Linked DNA regions of Homo sapiens: region 2 is linked to region 1. The links are contacts of gene promoters, found by promoter capture Hi-C in human tissues and cell types (Jung and others, 2019). All regions are on one chromosome and are shown on one strand. Each heading gives the region's core, a stretch centred on a gene start or on the middle of the fragment in contact. The rest is flanking DNA. Distances are from core to core; before and after follow the strand shown.

Evidence for each region. Contacts are between HindIII fragments. The study calls those that stand out against the background at their distance.
Region 2: a contact is called between a fragment that was not itself captured here and the fragment with the promoter of LSMEM1 in region 1, in 1 of the 25 tissues and cell types used here (dorsolateral prefrontal cortex).

Annotation. Positions count from the first base shown.
Region 1 is chr7:112,477,871-112,485,502 of GRCh38, reverse strand. LSMEM1 (leucine rich single-pass membrane protein 1) reads right to left here and starts at 4,512. Exons shown (of 4, transcript NM_182597.3): 1 at 4,157-4,512; 2 at 560-691. The coding sequence starts at 686. The HindIII fragment of the contact is 9,789 bases long and covers 1,122-7,632 here.
Region 2 is chr7:113,708,640-113,716,271 of GRCh38, reverse strand. No RefSeq gene overlaps it. Among named protein-coding and RNA genes, the nearest start is that of PPP1R3A, 210 kb to the left of the region's middle. The HindIII fragment of the contact is 3,767 bases long and covers 2,555-6,321 here.

The DNA.
Region 1 (7,632 bases), core at 3,263-5,762:
TAGAAAAGATGGCACTCAGAGTGATCTGATAAAGCTCATTTATAATATTTAGGAGGCAAGATACACACTTAGTATTTAGCAGATTTTATTTTGCTCCCCCCACCCCCTTTCTCCAACCCTTAATTGCACAATTTGTAACTTGTAAGTAGAAAATGCTCTGGATTGAGCATTCTCTCAGCAATCTGCTATAAAACAACACTCCTGTGGGAAGTGGTCCCCATCGGTAACCTAGCCATGGTCACTAGGAGAGGGATGAGCCAGCCTCCAGGAGTCCAGCTCTGCAGGCTCCACCCCTTTCCAGGGACAGAAACGCCACAGGATCTCAGAATATTTGAAGTCAAGAGTTCAAATCTCGTGTAGGATCCAAGAAAGCCCATAATCCTGTCAAGTATTCAGAAAACAAAAGCAAAATTGCCCAACAACAAATAACATTTCCAGTGCCAACCTCTTCCTAATGCCCCCTCCCCCTCCACCACACCCACACATCCAGTCAGCAGTGGCTATTTTTAGGTAGCCTAGAAGCTAGGAAGGGCTGCTGTGCCTTCCCCAGCACACATACGGAACAGATGCTGCGATCCGGCTGGACAGAGGTTTAGTTTGTTTAAGTCATTTATGGAATCCACCACATAAAGCTTTCCATCTTCCTGAATGCCACAAGAACCAGTGTCCTGGGAAGAATGAGTCATTGTCCCTGGAAGAAAACACTGATGTTAAAAACAAGAGGTTGGGCTTGTGAACTCAACTTCACAAGAACCACAGCCACCAGGAAGCCAGACAGGCCTATGAAGAACCACCCACAAATAGTATTTTCAACTAAGGCTCTAGAGAACTTGGCTTATCCAGAAAAAAATATTTCCTTCTGTGGACCACTTTGTAATCGTTCTTTTTGCTTTGCTTGCCAGGAAGCTCACAGTCAAATGTGTGGCCCAATTTTAAGAATTGTACATCCATGTATACCCTGCTTATCTGCAAACACTCTTTTCTCCTCCTCAGATGTCTCAGTTCTGCCTATATTTTCCCTGGATCTGTTTTTATTTTGTAACTAATTTTAAAATTTTTCTTTTATTACATTGTTCACATTCTGGTGAGATGCCTCAAATCCTTTGTGCAAGAAGACTAGGTAGACAAAATTAAGCTAGTCAGCAGTGGCCACAAAACATTCTGAAAAAAGAGAATATTACCATGAACCATTCTAATTGCAGGAGGCTTTAATAGAAAATTGCAATTTTTATAGCCTCCCTCCATATGGCATGTAAGTCCTTCTCTTCACACAATTCCTTTAGCCATAAGATGCTGACTGTGAGTCCCCAAGACAACAATCTTAGCAAACTTAGCTGCTATAGAGAGGAATGCTGCTAGACTTCAGGACCTCTGAGATCTCTTCCACCTGGGTTTCCCTTAGACTGAGGTCACTTATGTAATAGCTTGAGGTTTATTAAATATTGAAAGTAATATTCTCTAACGACAGCACAACTGCAAGCAACACTGAAAATCCTGAAGAGTTTAAAAGGTTTATGTGGAGATGTATCTCTAGCACAACAGAGAACTTGTGGCCATTTAATTATGTGAAAAGAAGCCTCTAGAAAGACAAATTTCAATTACTATAAAAGCTTTTCCTTTCATGGTTATCAAGTCTAATCGTGATAGAGGATGTTTGGATCTAGAAAGGGTGTTAGATGTGCTTTAGTTCCCATCCTTTCCGCAAATGAGGAAATGGAAGCTCGGCGAGGTAAATGCCCAGGATCACACATTTGCCTGGCAGCAGAGCTGGAATCGGGCCTTTTGTTCAGCATTCAATGAGTCTTGCTTTGTGCTACTTTTCTTTTCTATATCCCTTCCTAATCCTGCCTCAAGACTCAGCTCAAACATCACTTCCCCTAGGAAGAGAGAACCAACCTGTCTTTCCTTTTGCCTTTGCTGGATTCTTTACATTCTTCTATCAGAACATCTGTAGTATTTTATTGCATCTATTTGCTTACATCTTTGATTTCCCGATAGACTGAAAACTCCTTAGAGTAGGGACGAATCCTATTCTTCAAATGCCCAGTGCCAGGTTTAGAAGTTGGTGACTTATGTTAAGATGGAACACCTGAAATGTTTATTTAGGATTTAAATCTCACCATTTTCAAAAGAATTGGAGGCAGTTAATAATAAGTACATGAACAGAAATAAGATTGAGGATAAAAATCCTCATGTGATGTCTATCTGGACTCTAGTAAAGTCAATGCGATAAATATGGTGCCTGTGTGTATTTGACAACACACTGTTTACTTTCTGTTGTTGCAAAAATTTCCTTTAAAACTCATCTACAGAATGAAGAGCAATATAGAGTTGGGAGAAACCAAATTCATAAAAAAAAAAAAAAAGTATACACCTAAAGAAGATGTGGGGAAAAAAAGTATCAGACACTTACTGAGCAATTTAAACTTAGTCTAAAATATTAAAAAAACAATTTCCCAGTAATACCTAAAACTACTGGTACTTGTGAAAAATGTGCTACCAGAACCCTAGCTAAGAAAGTGAGCTCAAAAAGTCATGGACTAAAAATTTTTTTTAGGGTTAAAACTAAAAAAGTGTGTTTCACTTATCTTGAAATTTTAATTAACAAGAACAAACAATTCCCTGAGTTTTCAGATAAGATACTACCATAGCACTTTATTGACATTACTGAATTCCAAATATACTTCATAGAGCATTCCTAAGGAAATGACTTGATATGACAATTAAAAAAAATTAAAAAGCAGCAGCAAATAGAGTAAAAGGGCCTTAGAGGTCAGTCAAATCTTATCCTTTTGCAGTTAAAACCAAGGCCCCAAAATATTCACTCATGCATAGTCACAGATTTTAAAACAATTCTTTTAGATGTGTTTCATATTTTATCATCCATTTATACTAATATTTGACCAAACAGTAATATGTGACCAGGAAAAAAAGTTTTATGTGTCACATCACAGGACCACTGTTCTGCACACAGCTTCTATTTTAGGTGTGGTAACTGAAGCATGGTTCATTTTTGGATCTCTGACTTAATAGCCTTGAGCCTTAGCTTCCCCTTCAGGAATGTATCTGCTGTTGCTTCAATTTCATACTGAGGCTTAATCAATGTTTACAAAATAGAGACCTAGCTAGAAAATCATGGCCACAAAAACTGACTTTAAGAGTACAGCTAATAAAATCTCCATATTACTGGTCTTGCTATCTACTCAAAAGGTGACTCCAAAAAAAACTAAGACAACAACCTAGTGAGCCATGACGTGCTTTGAAAGAAAATGTCTTCTTTAGAGTGAAGTCACAATGTAAATATATGCTATTCCAATATTTTTTTAATGAGCTGCAACACGCAAATGGAAAAATAAAGAACTAGCAGAGAAAACTGAGTTGGGTGCTGTTCCAGGGCTCCAAGAGCCTGCAAATGACTTGCAAATGACTCATGAGGCTGCTAGTAAAGGGATACAAGATCACATGGCCTTAAAACCAGGCCCCACGGCTGTTTGACACCCAGTAGTTGCTATCTTTGGCATCTCCAAATGAGGGCATCTAGGAACAACCAGCAAGGCTGGAGAAGCCAGTGTTACTAGCAATTCTTCATCACACTAACTTGACCCTCCTTTCAACTCCAGTGTGCAAATTTGCTTATTCACCAAGATTGGCTAAAGCAGCATCCCTTTAACAGAACCCTTTCTTATACCTTGACTGGAAACATGTAAGTAATTTCATTTTCCTCTGGTTTAGATCACTGCTAACAGTTGATTTTTTGTCATTTAAGAATTCTTTGACTATTTACAAATAAATATTCCAACAAATAAAGATAATTGTCTATGAAAAATTGCCTGGTGCTTTATTTTTTAACCAGGCAGGTGCTTGGTATCAAACCACAGAAATAACTCACACCAGTATTGCTTGCCACAAAATCAGAATTGTTATAATAGGGCATAATTCAAAGCTAATAAGCAGTGTTATTGAATGAGTCATGGTAATTTGTTCTTTAATTTCATTTCCCAGTCAATGCCTCTTCACATTCAGGAAGTAATTTTTAAAATCAAGTCTAAATCATTTCTATCAAAAATGAAAAACACAGAGCACATGCAACAAAAACTTCCCAGACTCGAGAATCATAATTCAGTCTCAGTAGAGTAATAGCATGCAAATTACTTACAAAAATGTGAGCTTTGACTGCTAGGTTACCAGAAAAACAAAACAAAACAAAACAAACAAACAAAAACTAATTGTTCAGAAGCAACTACAACAAAACTTTTCTACAAATTCTGTAGTTCTCTCTTTGCCTTTCTTCAGCATACGGGTGCTCCTATGAGACCCATAAGCCCCAGGATGAAACTGTTGGTCTATATTGTGTCAATTTAGCCAAGCAGTGTAAGATTCCAAATCCTGACTTTTTTCATAATGTCTAAGGTTTTTAGTAAATATATTACTAAAACTATGCTTTAAAAAGAAAACAACAAAAAAACACCATGCCCTGATTTAGTTGGTAACTGATGAGGTTTTTATTGGACTGAAGTTACCGTCCTTATCTGGCTGAAGCAACTGTTAGCTGACACCACCTTTCCAGCACTCCTGCCATGGTATGCTTCCATATATAAATATCCTGTAGCAGGCGGAAGCTGCCACTATGATGACTGACTTGCAAACACTCCAGACAAACCAGAGAACTGCAATAAACACGGACAGAATATGATTATGACATCATAACAAGGATGATGGCAGGTCAGACGCCTAGTGCTTCCAGTAGCTACAAAAAGCGATTGTGAGTGGGCGATTTCATGGATACAGACCCACCACAGGTGAAGGAAGCACTCCATCTCATCGGCCGCCTTTCCTTTACAAAGGCTTTGTTCTGTGAGTGTCTGCACATCCTCCTTTCTCAGGAATAACAGCCTTCCATATATGTGGTTCCCTCACATACATGCCAAGGAGCTTCTGCCCTCTGCTGTACATAAAAGATGCTACAGTGATGAGGAGACCAACTATCTCAGCAGGATACTAACAGTGAGGTTGTGAACAACTGTGCAATCCTTTATCATCCTCACTTCCATTGCCATAGCTTGATGGACATTATTCATCTTTGAAACATTTTTCATGTCAGTGAGAAAATAGGTGTTCCACAAAATTTTCTTTGAGACAGAGTCTTGCTGTGTTGCCCAGGCTGGAGCGCAGTGGCATGATCCCAGCCTACTGAGACCTTCCTGCTTCCAGATTCTCCTGCCTCAGCCTCCCAAGTAGCTGGGATTACAGGTATGTGCCACCATAGCTGGCTAATTTCTTTATTTTTAGTAGAGATGGGGTTTCACCATGTTGGTCAGGCTAGTCTTGAACTCCTGACCTCAAGTGATCCACCCACCTCGGCCTCCCAAAGTGCTGGGATTACAAACTTGAGCCACCATGCCCGGCCCAAAATTTTCTTTACACCTATATCCCATACGGACCTCACTCTGCTTTGGGGGAAGAGGAATGTCATTTTTTTTTTCCCTTCACACTACCTAGTCTAAGAGGGAATGTCATTTTTTCAAGCCTCATCTGTACCCAAAGACTAATTCTTGGAGGAAGACAATATAACTAGTAACTTTTCTCAGAAACATACGTTAAAAAGCTATGTCAAATTTCTCTGAATAATGAAAATGTTCATGTTAGCTATTATGCTGTTTTTAAGAAATCTCCCAACTACCTGATCTGCCTTGAGCCATGTATCCTTTGAAGATATAATAGAAGTAACTGCCTCATTTTGGGGCGTTTACTACTTTTCCTCTCCTGTAACTTCTAACTTTGTGGAATATTAACTTCCCCTGAAGGAGGAAGGAAATGGAGACTAAGGAATTTAATTGTTGAGGGATACACTGATTATAAGTGGCAGAGATGAGATGTAAACCCATACCTCGCATTCAAGTCTGAATTGAACTATACACCAGTGAGGGGGATAAGACTGCCTTTAGACCAGTTAGACTTCTGGAAAGCCACTTAAGAACAAAGCAAGACAACCTACTTCATTTTAACTATAACATACCTGCAAGACCACCTTTAAGAAGAGTTTTGGGGCCGAGTGCGGTGGCTCATGCCTGTATTCCCAGCACTTTGGGAGGCCGAGACAGGCAGATTAACTGAGGTCGGAAGTTCGAGACCAGCCTGACCAACAAGGAGAAACCCCATCTCTACTAAAAATACAAAATTAGCCGGGTGTGGTGGCACATGCATGTAATCCCAGCAACTCAGGAGGCTGAGGCAGATTATACCATTGGACTCCAGCCTGGGCAACAAAAACGAAACTTCATCTCAAAAGAAAAAAAAAGAGTTTTGGGTCACAAAAAGAGATATTCTCACATGAAGTGTCTAATCTAGGGACATTCTCAAGTATTTGCTTTTTCTTTCATATATTACATCTCAGGGTATCTAAATTCACTCCCAGGAAATTTAGTACCCATCAAAGAGGAGTCACAGACAATGAATACTTCAAAATGCTTGAGCCTCAAAATAATGAAAGCGGGCAAAATTAATCAAGAATCAAGCAATGAACAACTAGTCTATAACACAACATTTTTCTACTTTCAAGAAAACACAAGCATTCTTACACATTGAACACCCAGCCACCCTTGTCTAGCAGTTACCACAAGTTTCATGAATAAAGTCACCTGCATATAAATTCAACATGCAGATTAACACTCTATACCTTCTTCCTCCCAAAAGCCCAGTAAAAAAGCAGGAGTACAAATTACAAAACCAGAAAAATTAAAATAGGAAGAAACAATACTGAAGAGCTCAATAAATGTATTGAACATGGTAAGAAGAGTGGTATCTGCCTTAGCAGGGCTATCACAGATGAGTGACAGTAGGACTGATCCTGCAGAATTCAGGCAGGCCTAGGATTTAGAGGCAAGAGTGTGGCATGGAGCTACACAGAGGCAAGTAATTTAATGCTAGCCAAAAACAAAATGCAATACAAATTGGAAAATTGTCTTAGAGAAATATCCCAGACAGAAAAAAAAAAAATAAATAAGGCCCAAGATTCAATTTGGGAGCTCCACTATGTCATAGAGTTCCAGAACAAAGAAAATGAGGAGGAAGAGAAGAGATGAAGAACTTAATATTTTCCAGGTTGCCAATCCCACCAAAGCACAGTATCATGCAATTTTAGAACACTAGAAACAGAGATGCTGAGAAAACAAAGAAATAAAAATAAAAACTGCATCAGATATCTCAAGATTTTGCAAATTAGAATAGAGCAATGCCTTCAAAATTCTGAATTTGAATACACTTGTCAAAATTTTCAAAAATTCCAAATTTGATTTTCCACCTAGAATTTCCATGCAAACTATCTTTCAGAAATATGAAGTCACTAAATAACTGACTGATCTCTCACGCACTCATTCCCAAGAAACTACTGAAAGAAGTGCTCCATGTTAACAAAGAAGTAAATTAAGACATGGGATCCAGAAAATGAGGGATACAATTCAAGAGAAAGAAAAACAAATCCTCACGATAGTGCTGTCTCAGGAAAACTGCTATACAATTGGATGAGAGAAACTAGTCTAGATTGAAACAAGTACAGAATCAAGAAAAGTTGTGACAAATTTATTTGGGACTGTTTGGGAAGAATCAATGATGTGCATAAAAAGCCAAAAAAAA
Region 2 (7,632 bases), core at 3,189-5,688, 1.2 Mb before region 1:
AAGAAATTAGCAGTTAAGGCTTTTCAGAGAAGGTTGGCCTCTTTGGTATAACTAAGCAACCTTTGAGAAGCAGACAGTGGTATTTCAGCACTTGAGTACCATGCTTTGCTGGGTTATTTCAGACACTACAAGTAATGTATTGTTTAGTTGTACCCATGTACACCATTAAATGCATCACAGTGTGGCATGGATTCAGCAAGTTTTAGTCATAACATGCCAGCTGGAGAATATTAAGGGGGGAAAATCCGTTTTCAATTTCTGCTTAATGTTCCGGTGATAATAATGTAACTCACTTCTGTAAATGTATTTACCTTTCAAACACGATAACTACTATTCAACATATAGGTAAAAATAGAATTTTCAGTAATGTGGCATTTGCTTACTCCCACTTCTTTACTCAGTTTTTGAATTTTGTTCTTATTCTTCATTGATACATATATGTTTCAACTTTTCTTTCTTTCTCTTTTTTTTTTTTTTTTTTTTACTTCTAGGGTTAATTAACCTTAACACTAGACTGACATTTGCCAGGTTTACTGGAGCAACAAAAATGTCTTTGTAGGCAAGAATTATACAAACACTGTGAATGTATTTTGCAATTGTTTTCCTGAACATTTTATGGCTACTAAAACCTTATGGTGGGCTTTTACAGTAATTATTGTGGCCTATGAAAAATGTGCTTTTTTTTATTTTTGCCATGAAAATAATTTTCATTTGCTTTCCTGCCCCAATCATTAAAATCTACCCAGAGGATTCCTCCTTGTCTACTGAGCATGTCTACTAAGACCTGCTCCATATTTAACTTGCTCTTAGATCACACCATGGCTTGAGAATTCTTTTAATCTCTTTTCCATTTATAACTGTACTGCTTGACCTTTTTTCAGCAAGGTGTCTTGTATATAAAATGTCAGTGAGAGGATTACAGACATGGGACAAAGACATAGTTTAATTAAAAAAGGTCCTGCGAGACTGAAAAAGGTTACTGGCCTAGATCACAAATATTTAATGCCAGATGACTATTTATGAGGCTAAAATAAAAAAAAAAAGAAAAAATGGCCACTAGTAATTGACCAACCATTACATTTGCAATAATTAAATTATATTTCTGATTAAAACTTTTGCTTTGTCCTTATGATAAATTAAAACATTTAAGCTATGAGTCATGCCAGTTAGAAAATTAAAATTAATTCAACATTATTTTAAGGGAGACAATATAACAGAGGTCTATAGACCTGGTTATTTTTAATGTCAAGGTCTGAATATTTTTTAAAATTCATTCATTGCTTAGAAACTACTTATGTGAAGCTACGTATGGTTTGACTGAACCAAATACATCCATGCAACAGGTGGCTTTGCCACCCATTTATCTTTTCATCTTACCTCATGTACATGCACATATATACAAATTAAAATAGTTAACAACTGAGTTATTTAACCACCGATTCAGCAATGACATCAGTTAATCAGATGGGATCCCCAAGCAGTCTAAAAGGATACTGCTATTTAAAACTAGTTTGACTATAAGTATGAAGGCCAGCAGAATTACACACACACATTCACACAGAAACACACACACACACACACACACAGAGTCATGTGCTGCAGAACAACGTTTCAGCCAATGACAAACTGCATAGTCCACAGAGGTTCCATAAGTTTGCAATGGAGCTGCAAATATCCTATTGCCCAGTGACTTTATAGATGTCCAAACATCATAGGACAATGTGTTACTCACGGGTGTGTGGTGATGCTGGTGCTGCCAGTTGATAAAGTCTAGCACATACAATTGTGTATAGTATATAATACTTGATAATGATAATAAACAACTATGCTACTGATTTATGTATTTACTGTATTACACTTTTTAATCATTATTTTAGAGTGTACTCCTTCTTGGAGTACAAAAAGTTAAGTGTAGAACAGCCTGAGGCAGATCCTTCAGGAGGTATTCCAGAAGAAGCATACAGGAAGTGAGAGCTCCCTGTATATAACATTACTGTAATGTTATATAATAAAAAATGGTAACAATCTGCTTTAAGCTAAACCCTTATCACACTTCCTTTCTAAAACTCAAAAGCTTTTTGGAATCAAACATCCCACCTGAGCATTAAGACGGTACTATGCTGCAGGCTTCCAACCTTAGATAATGATTGATCTTTCTGAAACCGTGAGTTAGGAATCTCATTCTTGTTTGTGATCACTTCTTGATATTTGCCCTGATCAAACACTTCCTCATGTGCGGGAGAATTTGCAGTTCTATTGGAGATACTTGTATGTTTTGTGGACATATAGAAGATAGCTTTTGGTGATTTTACATGACTCTAAATTCAAAAGTTCAAAAACTCAGAAATTCCTTAATTAGTAATATATGAGTATATGGCTCTTTCAGGCATTTGAATGTTTCAGCCATAGAAGCACCAACAATAGCAGGGATAGGACAAAAAATAATAGTTTCAAAAAGTTTGATCCATTCAGTATCTGAATGAAATGTATTCAGGAAGAACTCTGGTAATTAGCAGAAAAGAATGTGCTTACTGCTCATTCATTCAATGAATTGATATTTAATTTAATGACTACTATATGTCTGGCACTATGTCAAGTGGGTAAATAAAAATATAAATATTTTCTCTACTTGTGGAATTAAGGGTCTATTGAGGATGAGGAAGTGATAGATTTTTGTCTAATAACCATACTAATAAATATATAATTACAAACCCAGATAAGTGATATCAAATAAGAAATGCTCTATAAAATCTCACTCGAATGAAGATGATCTGGATAGTGGCTGATCCAGATGAGGCATGGTGAGAGATGAAGACAGTACAGCGAGCCAGTTCTCAAGGAAGGCTCAAGGACGAGAATCATAGAAACTTCCAAGGCTTCAGGAGAAGCCAGTCTGGAACAGACATTTTTACAACTTAAGAATAACAAATCTTCCACAGAAAAATAACCTGACTCCCATGAAGAATCAAACTACCATGGTAGACATTTAGCCAAATATGGATATGATAGACAATCTAAAATATTATAAAATAAGCTTTTCAAAATAATTTTTAAAGACAGATAAGCAGGAATGAAAATGTTAATGTATGATAGAATGCTATGGTCACACACAGGGAAACTAGAAAAAAAGACCAAACAAAATGTAAATGTTAATTAAAGAAAAAAATAATTTAATGGAAGAGTTAAACAGATTAGGAACTGCTGAAATGGTATTAGTAAGCAAGATGTTGAAGATGAAGAAATCACTCAGTATATGTCAAAGGCAGCATAGAGAGATGGAATTGAAAATATGATTTTATTAGCCAGGATCCTCCAGAGAAACAGAAGCAATATGATCTCTCTCTCTCTCTCTCTCGATAGATAGATATAGTATATATATATATATAGATATATAGTATAGATATATAGATATATAGTATATATATAGATATATAGTATAGATATATAGATATATAGTATATATATAGATATATAGTATAGATATATAGATATATAGTATATATATAGATATATAGATATATAGTATATATAGATATATAGATATATAGTATATATATAGATATATAGTATATATAGATACAGATAGATTTATGCCTCTATCTATATCTAGCTATATAGATATAGATATATCTATAAATATGCCTCTGTGTGTGTATATGCAGATAGATAGATAGATATGCAGATAATTAAGCAAAGAAAGGAGGGAAAATAGTAAACAAAACAAAGTGATAGAAATAAGTCCAAACATGTGAGGGAGAGACAGAAAGATACAGAGAGAAGAGGGAAGGAAACAGATTTATTTTAAGGAATTGGCTTATGCTATTGTGGAAGCTGACAGTCTCAAATCTTCTGGGCAGGCCAGCAGGCTAGAGACCCAGGGAAGAGTCATGTTGCAGTCTTAAGTTGGAAGGTAGTCTAGAGGCAGAATTTCTTCCCTCTCTGAAGATCTTAATCTCTTCTCTTAAGGCCTTTAACTGATTAAGTGAGGCCCATGATATTGTGAAAGATAATCTGCTTTATTCAAAGTCTACTGATTTAAATACTAATCATATCTTTAAAAAATACTTCAAAATCTAAACTTGTTGTTGACCAATACAACTGGGCACTTTAGCATAGCCAAGTTGTCACATAAAATTAACCATCACAATGAGTGCATATTAAGAGATGCCAAAGATAGAGTGAGAAAGTCTCATGTTTATTTGGAAGGTGTTCCAGAAGGAGAGGTAGAGACTAGCAGTGAAGCAATATTTACAGAAATATTGCCTGAAAGTCTGTCCAAATGTAAGGGAAAAAAATAAAATTTTTGATTTAAGTGGCACACAAATTCAGAGCAAGAAAATGCAATTAATTCCACAATGAGTGGGTTATTATGAAACTGCAGAACATAAAAATAAAAAGAAAACATTTAAAGGTTTCAAAAGAAAAGACACATCATCTACTAAGGAAAGGTAAGCAGAATAAAAACTGTTTTTTACCATCAAGAGCTACCACAGGTAGTGGAAAAATACTTTCAAAGGACTCAGGAGAAATGATTGAACAAATGGACTTTTATACCCAGCTAAATGATTGATGAAGAATAAAGGCAAAATAAAGGCATATTTTTCAGACAATATCTGAGAGCTTTTCAGTTTGTGGATTTTACTGAAAGAAAAATTAACTGATACATTTAAGTATCTACAAAAGAGGATTCTGATGAAAAAAAATGATGATGCACAAAGTGATTTTCCCTAAAGAAATTTTAAACATTTTAATAAAACTCAGTAAGCTTTGATTGCAAAAAGTATCTGGTTTTGAGGACTTCCAAAGCAAGTAGTATCTAAAATACTGGACAGCTACCCTTAAAGAGGGGAGTATGTTAAAAAATAAATTGTTCTAATGTTTTTGAAAGGACAGAGATATTATTGAATGTTCTACTTTGTTATGTCAAGAATGGATGTTAAAAATAAAAGGACAACTGCTAAAGAAAATGAAAATAAAATACATAATTTCTAAGCTAGTAGAAGAATAAAAGGGAAATTACAAAACAAGCAGAAAGTTAAGCAAGAAAGGATGTAAAATCGTAAAAAAAAGATGACAGATGTCCAAATACATGCTAATAATCACAAAAATGTAACCGAATTAATAAAATATAGATTTTAAGATTAAATTTATTTTTGTTCTAGCTTTGTTTCCTGACAGCATCTAAGCATTAAAACACAGAAAGGCTGAAAGTAAAGTGATGATGAAACATACACTGAAAAATACTAAAGAAAAGGAAACTAGTGTTGCTATGTTAATTTCAAATAAAGTCAACTTTAAGGCAGATGATAATCACCTTATGACTAGCCCCTTGAGTCATCTTAAGTAACTAAATTTATATTCACTGGAAGAGAACTACTAACAGAACTTATCAAGCCACCAACTTCTGGAGACTATGACAGATTCTCAGGAAGCTGTCTGGACAGTATCTTAGGGAATGTCATTCTGTTACTAAATATTTTAATATTAGTACTTGGGTAGATAGTTATTCTAGGACAGCGTGATGCATTTGGATACTTTGTCAGCCCAGGGCTTACCCTCTGGTTTGGAAAACCAAACTGATTTAAAAAAAGGCGTAACTAAAAAATAAAAAGGAAAAGGCCACATAGAGGATTTTGACTAAATGACAGATATTCTATGTGTCTGAGACATTTGGATTAGTGCCTAGTTGACCCAGTAAGCTATTATGCAAATCCTACAAGTTCCATTCACCTTAAGTAAGTGCATGCTTTCTGAGGGACTCCTGGTTGCAATTCAGTTTATGACCACTAGATGGCATGTTGCCTTTTTGCAAAGAGCAAACGTCGCAGACCTGTCAAGTAGCCTTAAGAAGGAAAATTACTGAATAAATAGATAGATAGAAAGGTAATTGTGGATAATGGAAGATGGATAGAGAGAGAGAGAGAGAGACACTGTATAGATAGAAAGGTAATTGTTGATAATGGGGGGTAGACTCTGTCATGAATTAAAATTAATTATTATCTACTTAGAGATAAACTATTAACAATGATGCCAATATAGTGATTTCTAAGATCCTTTTCCAATGCTACAATTCTATAATACCATTTGAGACAGCATATAAACAAATTAAACTTTCTCAGACATCGGAAGAAATTTATATTTCCTTTTAAAATTTGTTTTATTTACTGTTTTATAAAAACTCTTTTGTGTTTTACGTATTCCAGATATTTGGCAACCACATCCCAGGTTAGTCTCATTCGTACTTGGCCTGTATAATCTTCTATTTTATCTCCTAGAGGCAAAGACCTATTCAAAGTCTGCCTGAAGATGAGTTCATTGGGCAGTTAGGCAGCTGCTGCTGTGAGATCAACATTTTGTCCTTGTGGTCCCTTGGAAGGCCCCAGGGCTTTCCTTTTTCTCCAGAGGTGTGCCCCCACTGCTGTTTCAGATGCTAGGATTTCATCCAATCATCTAGTCTGCAAATGTCTGTCTTTGCCTCTTCCATTTCTAGCACTTTGACTTTTGCTGCATGTCTTGACCTGGACAAGTCACTTCATTTCATTGAACCTCTGTTCCTTCACCTGTGAATTAGAAAAAGTGTAACTTGCCTCCCATGGTTATGTGAGAATCCAAAGAGATAATGTGTAAAGTACCTAAAACATGGGCACAGATTGACATATACATTAAAGAATTACATTTTTGAAATTCTGAGAAAAAAATTCAGAGATAACATGAAATTCTGACAAAACAATCTCAAAAAAGCCTGATTCGAAATAATGAAGGGGATAACTAGCAATGCCAATGGGGCTATTCACGTATTCTCTTAGAAGTTCAGAAATTAAAAGTACAAATACACTTCCCAAATGGATTATCATGATTATACAAATTTGATCCAACTCCTCTATCATATATTCATTCCAACAGGTTTGATCTTGTATATACCTATTAAACCTGTGATTAAATAACTACTTTAAAAAAAAGGACAAGTAAAAATTGTTGCTATGGGCTTTTGAAATAGAGTTAAGACATTTAAAGCCAGAATTAAGTAAGTTTTGAGAAGAAAACTAGGATAAAATATCATTCAGCTGAACGTATGAAAAAAGACTTAAGAATATTAATTAGGTGAACATCAATGTTAGCTACCTGTGTGATGAAGCTGACCAATAGGCTGACATTACCTTTAGGCCCCTTAACAGAAATAGTGTCTGCAATGAGGAAGGTGTTAGTCCTATTATGTTTGGCTCAGGTCACATCTCAAGTAGAGTATAGTATTTGTTTCCAAGTGCAAACACTATCAAAAGTGTACTGGCTGGCATACCTTAAGACATAGATGCTGATGGTCTGGATTAGTGGGAGATAGGGGGTTCCAAAGGAGATAGGCTTACTGGGGTTTGAGAAAGTCCACTTTTGTGGCCACAGTTTGCTATTTGAAGGTCCCAGATAAAGTCAGTAGTCAAAATTGGGAGGTGTGTAAAGTTGCCAGATAAAATCAAGAATATACTTTAGTTGCGTGGGACATACTTTTATACTAAAAATTATGTTTTACTTATCTTAAATTCAAGGTAATTTATATAATTAAATATGTCCCTTGCAACTAAAGTCTATTCATTGGTTATCAGAAATTTAAATTTAACTGGGTATCCTGTATTTTTA